Linked DNA regions of Homo sapiens: region 2 is linked to region 1. The links are contacts of gene promoters, found by promoter capture Hi-C in blood cells and fetal thymus (Javierre and others, 2016). All regions are on one chromosome and are shown on one strand. The core of a region is centred on a gene start or on the middle of the fragment in contact, and the rest is flanking DNA. Distances in the headings are between cores, read along the strand shown. Region 1 overlaps ZER1 (zyg-11 related cell cycle regulator). Region 2 holds the start of DOLK (dolichol kinase).

Region 1 (2,700 bases), core at 121-2,620:
GCGAAGTGGCTCACACCTGTAATCCTAGCACTTTGGGAGGCTGAGGTGGGTGCATCACTTGAGGTCAGGAGTTCGAGACCTGGCTAACATGGTAAAACCCCGTCTCTACTAAAAATACAAAAATTAGCTCGGCGTGGTGGTACGTGCCTGTAATCCCAGCCACTTGGGAGGCTGAGGCAGGAGAATCACTTGAATCCAGGAGGCAGAGGTTGCAGTGAGCCGAGATGGTGCCACTGCACTCCAGCCTGGTCAACAGAGCGAGACTCTGTCTCAAAAAAATAAAATTTAAAAATAAATGGACGGGGCCCACCCCTAGGTTTTCTTTTCCAGTACATCCGGGAGGTGGGAGGTGGCCCTGGAATTTTCATGGTTAACAAGGATTCCCGGGAAATTTGAGAAGCACTGGGTAAGACTGACCAGTTACCTACCACAGTCACTTTGAACATTTCTCCAAGGCCTGTGATGGGAATCTGAGGCACTGGCCTGTCTGACAGCAAGGAGTAAATGACCCTGGACAATGCTTAGGAGAAGGCCCTCGGCCTGTCCACTGACCTCTCTCCCACTCTGGGTATTTGTTTCCTAAAAGGTATTGGGGCATCCCTTTAACACACAGAGGCTGCAGTGAAGCCCCCAAACCACAGGCTTGGTGTTGAATGGGCAAGCTGTCCGGGGTCCAAGGTGACAACCAACAGTGATGGGTGGCAGGGGTCAGGCTGGGGCGGGCGAGACTCGAAATCTGAGCTGGAGTGCTGAGCCCTGGCTGCCACAGGGTAGTGGGGGCCCTTGTGCGAGCACAGCTGCCCCTGCCCGACCCTGGACCTGCCACTGGATCCGGGCCTCTAGGGGAATCTGATGTGCAGTCAGTTTGGGGACCACTGGTGGACTTCTGGAAAGAGAAGGGTCTAGTGTGCAGGGAAAATGAAGAAGAGGTCGCTAAAGAAACTTCCAAAGGGTTTTGGAGGTCGGGCCTGAGCTGATTTGGGGACCCCCTATCCACAGATGCCCTGGGACTGGGGGTGGGAGAAGAGGGGCATGGAAAGGAAGGAAGCGGAGGATGGCTGGTGATGGCATTCACGGCCACAGGTGCCATTCCCTGAGTCCCCTGCACATGCCAGCCACTCTGCCAGCCCCTCTGTCCACATCATTCGGTCAGCATCACCATCACTATGAACACGTGTTTACCCAGCTGCCTAATGATCTCGGAGGGGCTGGGCTCACCCCCACCCAAGCCCACCCTCCAATCCTGTCTCCCCCATTGTCTCCAGCAAGGTGATTGAGCACTGCAGTAACTTTAAAGAGGAGAACATGGACACGTCTAGATAGAGGCCTCCGTCCCCATGGCCGCCACCGCTCTGGACCACAGGCGGGGAGGAAGCATGCTCAAGCAGCCCAGCGGGCGGGCCCCTTCCGAGGGAGCCTCCCACGGAGTGAAGAGACATGGGGGACTTTTGCACAACCGACGCTTTTCCTTAATGTTAGTGAGATATATATATATTATATATATATATTTTTTTTTTGGTTAGGAAGTGTGAAGTTTTGTGTGTATGATTTCTGTGCAAAAACAAAAGCAACACTCCTGAGTCCTTGCAGCTTCCTTGGCCATTCTCAAACCCACTCAGCCTTCATCGCTGACACACACACTCCTACCCCAACCAGACTAAATGCCTATAACGCTGTGAGTGTCCAGTCCTTGTCCAGGAAACTCAGATCCCGGCCTGGCTTCCTTTCATGAGAGGAGCAGGCCTTGGACAGCGTATCGAGCATCCTGACCCACTGCCCCTGCCTGAGAACGCCATCTCGGCTCCCGGGCACAGCTGATGGGGTTTGGGGATTAGAACTTACCCCACTGGGTCTCCCAAAAGCCTTGGTGCTCCCGGCTGTGGGCCATCTGGGGCAGGAAAGTGAGCCATTCCTAGGCTGAGGTCCAGGCAGCCCTGCCCCTGAAGACCCTCTAGGAGCAGGGCACCCAGTGGCCCTGCTGCTGTCCAGCCAGGCCTGCCTGAGGCCACGCTGCTATGGAGGCTGCCTCCTAGTCTCCCACCAGGTCCCAGGCTGTGGAAAGCCCCAGCCCAGGGATGGTCAGAACTCAGGGGCAGATTCCACTGCCCCTTCTGCCAAACACATCCAGAACCTGCCCTCAGCCCTGGAAGCTAGCATCTTCTGGGGCCAGGGGCTTGCTTCCTCGCTCCATAGCCCTCAACTGCCCAGGCGCTCCCACCAGCAGAACTGAGCCTGCCTCCTCCTCCCAGCCTGCCCCGCTGCCCAGAGGACCCCACGCCTCTCAGAGGCAGAGGTCCCATGACAGCCTTTGACCCACAACGGCCACACAGCCGCCTCCAGACCAGCACTCGGACTGCCCTGCAGTGGCCGCTTGGGCCTCCCTGGCGGTCCCGCCCTGCCCTAGGCTTTACCTTGGAAGCCTGAGAGGCGCCGGCTCTCTTGCTCCTCCATCGATGGACACTGCATTGCTTCTCATCGGACACTTGTGGAGCGCAGGGGCCTGGGGAGCAGCGCTAACCCTGGAGGCAGCCTTTGGGTGATGGCTTTTTCTTCCCTTTTCCTCCCGCGGGCCTGTTTTCAGGTGTTCCTAGCATTTCTGCCTCCAGGCAGGACGGCAGGGGTGAGCAGCTTTGGGAGAGACACCTGGCCTTTTTCTCCTGGAGCCTCTCCCTCCCGGCCCTGGGAAGTGGGCGCAGCCCT
Region 2 (2,700 bases), core at 150-2,649, 220 kb before region 1:
TGTAATCCCAGCACTTTGGGAGGTCGAGGCGGGCGGATCATGAGGTCAGAAGATCGAGACCATCCTGGCTAACACAGTGAAACCCTGTCTCTACTGAAAATACAAAAAATTAGCCAGGCGTTGTGGCGGGTGCCTGTATCCCCAGCTACTTGGGAGGCTGAGGCAGGAGAATGGCATGAACCCGGGAGACAGAGCTTGCAGTGAGCCGAGATCGTGCCATTGCACTCCAGCCTGGGCGACAGAGCGAGACTCCGTCTCAAAAAAAAAAAAAAAAAAAAAAAAAAAAAAAAGTGGGGAAAACACTGCTGGCACAGGGAAGGATAAGAGACGGGGATGTTTAACTTTGAGGGAGGGTGGTGGGAAGAACGAAGACCTTCGAGCTGCAATGTGGAAGACAGAAGGAGGCGTGGTGGTCTGGTTATAGCACTGGAGGTACGCAGACTTCAGCTTGAAGGCTCTCTTTATCACTTGGCTAGCTCTGAGCCGGACTTCTGAGTCATCTGTGAAATAGAAGGCGCCTCTCGGAGTTGCGAGAATTGAATGAGATAACTCCTGGGAAGCGCTCCACCAGGGTCTGACGCTAGAAAGCACTTTGTCAGAATTGTAGTTTTCGTATATAATATTTCATCTTCTTGTCCCTAAAGCCTAGTTCAATCCCTGAAATCTCTTGGAGGATTTGGACATGCTGGCTGACTTGATTCAGTGCAAGAAAAGAACGATACGAGGCGCGGAGAGGACAGAAGCCGCAAGCGTGGCTCCGCTCAACGCGAAACAAAATCCTAACAAGAACAGATCGCGGGAGAGGTCGGGGAGCCAGCAGGGCGCACTCGACGCCGGGGCAGGACACTGGGAGCCTGCAGCAGGGACGTGGGTGGGGGGTACCCCAGGAGACCGCAAAGCTCCCCGTGGCTCGAGGGAGCGTCACGGCCGGAGAAGGAAGCGCGGGTGGGGCGCCAAGAGACGCGTCGGAGGTGAGAGAGGAGGAAGGCAAAGGGCCCTGGGTGAGGAGATGGGAGGCCGAGCGCGGAGGGAAGGGGTGAAGAGCCGGCCCCCCTCCTGAAGAAGACTCTTCAGATCCCCGCGCGCGGGGACCGTTTGGACGTAACCGCCTCCCGTCTCGGTGCCCGTCCATCCAGCCGGGGTTGGCCCTGCCACTGTCGCCACATCCCGCCTCCAATTCCCGCCCCGCTTCCGCTCGGCTTTGACACCGCGCTTCACAGCCACCCCGGTCCATTCGACCCGCTCCGCACCTCACACACGGCCCGCCGGCGGCCGCCGCCATCTTCGCGCGCCCGCTCGCCCTAACCCCGCCCCCAGACGCCATGCCCACGTGACCGCTCGCCCCCGGACCCGGAGCGTGGGCGGGGATTTCGTCACGTGACGTTGCCGCGGGGCGGTGCCAAGATGGCGAGGCCCAAAGAGGTGAGGAGCCGGCAGCGGGGGCGGCTGTAACTGTGAGGAAGGCTGCAGAGTGGCGACGTCTACGCCGTAGGTTGGAGGCTGTGGGGGGTGGCCGGGCGCCAGCTCCCAGGCCGCAGAAGTGACCTGCGGTGGAGTTCCCTCCTCGCTGCTGGAGAACGGAGGGAGAAGGTTGCTGGCCGGGTGAAAGTGCCTCCCTCTGCTTGACGGGGCTGAGGGGCCCGAAGTCTAGGGCGTCCGTAGTCGCCCCGGCCTCCGTGAAGCCCCAGGTCTAGAGATATGACCCGAGAGTGCCCATCTCCGGCCCCGGGGCCTGGGGCTCCGCTGAGTGGATCGGTGCTGGCAGAGGCGGCAGTAGTGTTTGCAGTGGTGCTGAGCATCCACGCAACCGTATGGGACCGATACTCGTGGTGCGCCGTGGCCCTCGCAGTGCAGGCCTTCTACGTCCAATACAAGTGGGACCGGCTGCTACAGCAGGGAAGCGCCGTCTTCCAGTTCCGAATGTCCGCAAACAGTGGCCTATTGCCCGCCTCCATGGTCATGCCTTTGCTTGGACTAGTCATGAAGGAGCGGTGCCAGACTGCTGGGAACCCGTTCTTTGAGCGTTTTGGCATTGTGGTGGCAGCCACTGGCATGGCAGTGGCCCTCTTCTCATCAGTGTTGGCGCTCGGCATCACTCGCCCAGTGCCAACCAACACTTGTGTCATCTTGGGCTTGGCTGGAGGTGTTATCATTTATATCATGAAGCACTCGTTGAGCGTGGGGGAGGTGATCGAAGTCCTGGAAGTCCTTCTGATCTTCGTTTATCTCAACATGATCCTGCTGTACCTGCTGCCCCGCTGCTTCACCCCTGGTGAGGCACTGCTGGTATTGGGTGGCATTAGCTTTGTCCTCAACCAGCTCATCAAGCGCTCTCTGACACTGGTGGAAAGTCAGGGGGACCCAGTGGACTTCTTCCTGCTGGTGGTGGTAGTAGGGATGGTACTCATGGGCATTTTCTTCAGCACTCTGTTTGTCTTCATGGACTCAGGCACCTGGGCCTCCTCCATCTTCTTCCACCTCATGACCTGTGTGCTGAGCCTTGGTGTGGTCCTACCCTGGCTGCACCGGCTCATCCGCAGGAATCCCCTGCTCTGGCTTCTTCAGTTTCTCTTCCAGACAGACACCCGCATCTACCTCCTAGCCTATTGGTCTCTGCTGGCCACCTTGGCCTGCCTGGTGGTGCTGTACCAGAATGCCAAGCGGTCATCTTCCGAGTCCAAGAAGCACCAGGCCCCCACC

Evidence for each region. Contacts are between HindIII fragments. The CHiCAGO score rates a contact against its expected background, and 5 or more counts as called.
Region 2: a contact is called between the fragment with the promoter of DOLK here and a fragment that was not itself captured in region 1, in 1 of 17 cell types (erythroblasts). The highest score is 5.3, in erythroblasts.

What each region holds. Positions count from the first base shown.
Region 1 is chr9:128,729,960-128,732,659 of GRCh38, reverse strand. ZER1 (zyg-11 related cell cycle regulator) reads left to right here. Exons shown (of 16, transcript NM_006336.4): 16 at 1,266-2,700. The coding sequence ends at 1,323. The region is part of intron 1 of ZDHHC12-DT (ZDHHC12 divergent transcript); the gene reads right to left. Among named protein-coding and RNA genes, the nearest start is that of ZDHHC12-DT, 6.8 kb to the right of the region's middle. RefSeq lists enhancers at 1-467, 2,261-2,700. The HindIII fragment of the contact is 3,790 bases long and covers 1-2,700 here.
Region 2 is chr9:128,946,302-128,949,001 of GRCh38, reverse strand. DOLK (dolichol kinase) reads left to right here and starts at 1,399. Exons shown (of 1, transcript NM_014908.4): 1 at 1,399-2,700. The coding sequence starts at 1,699. It overlaps NUP188 (nucleoporin 188), which reads right to left and starts at 1,303. Exons shown (of 44, transcript NM_015354.3): 1 at 1,251-1,303. The coding sequence starts at 1,282. RefSeq lists enhancers at 1,184-1,233, 953-1,514, 1,584-1,653, 1,515-2,076, 2,077-2,639. The HindIII fragment of the contact is 6,982 bases long and covers 1-2,700 here.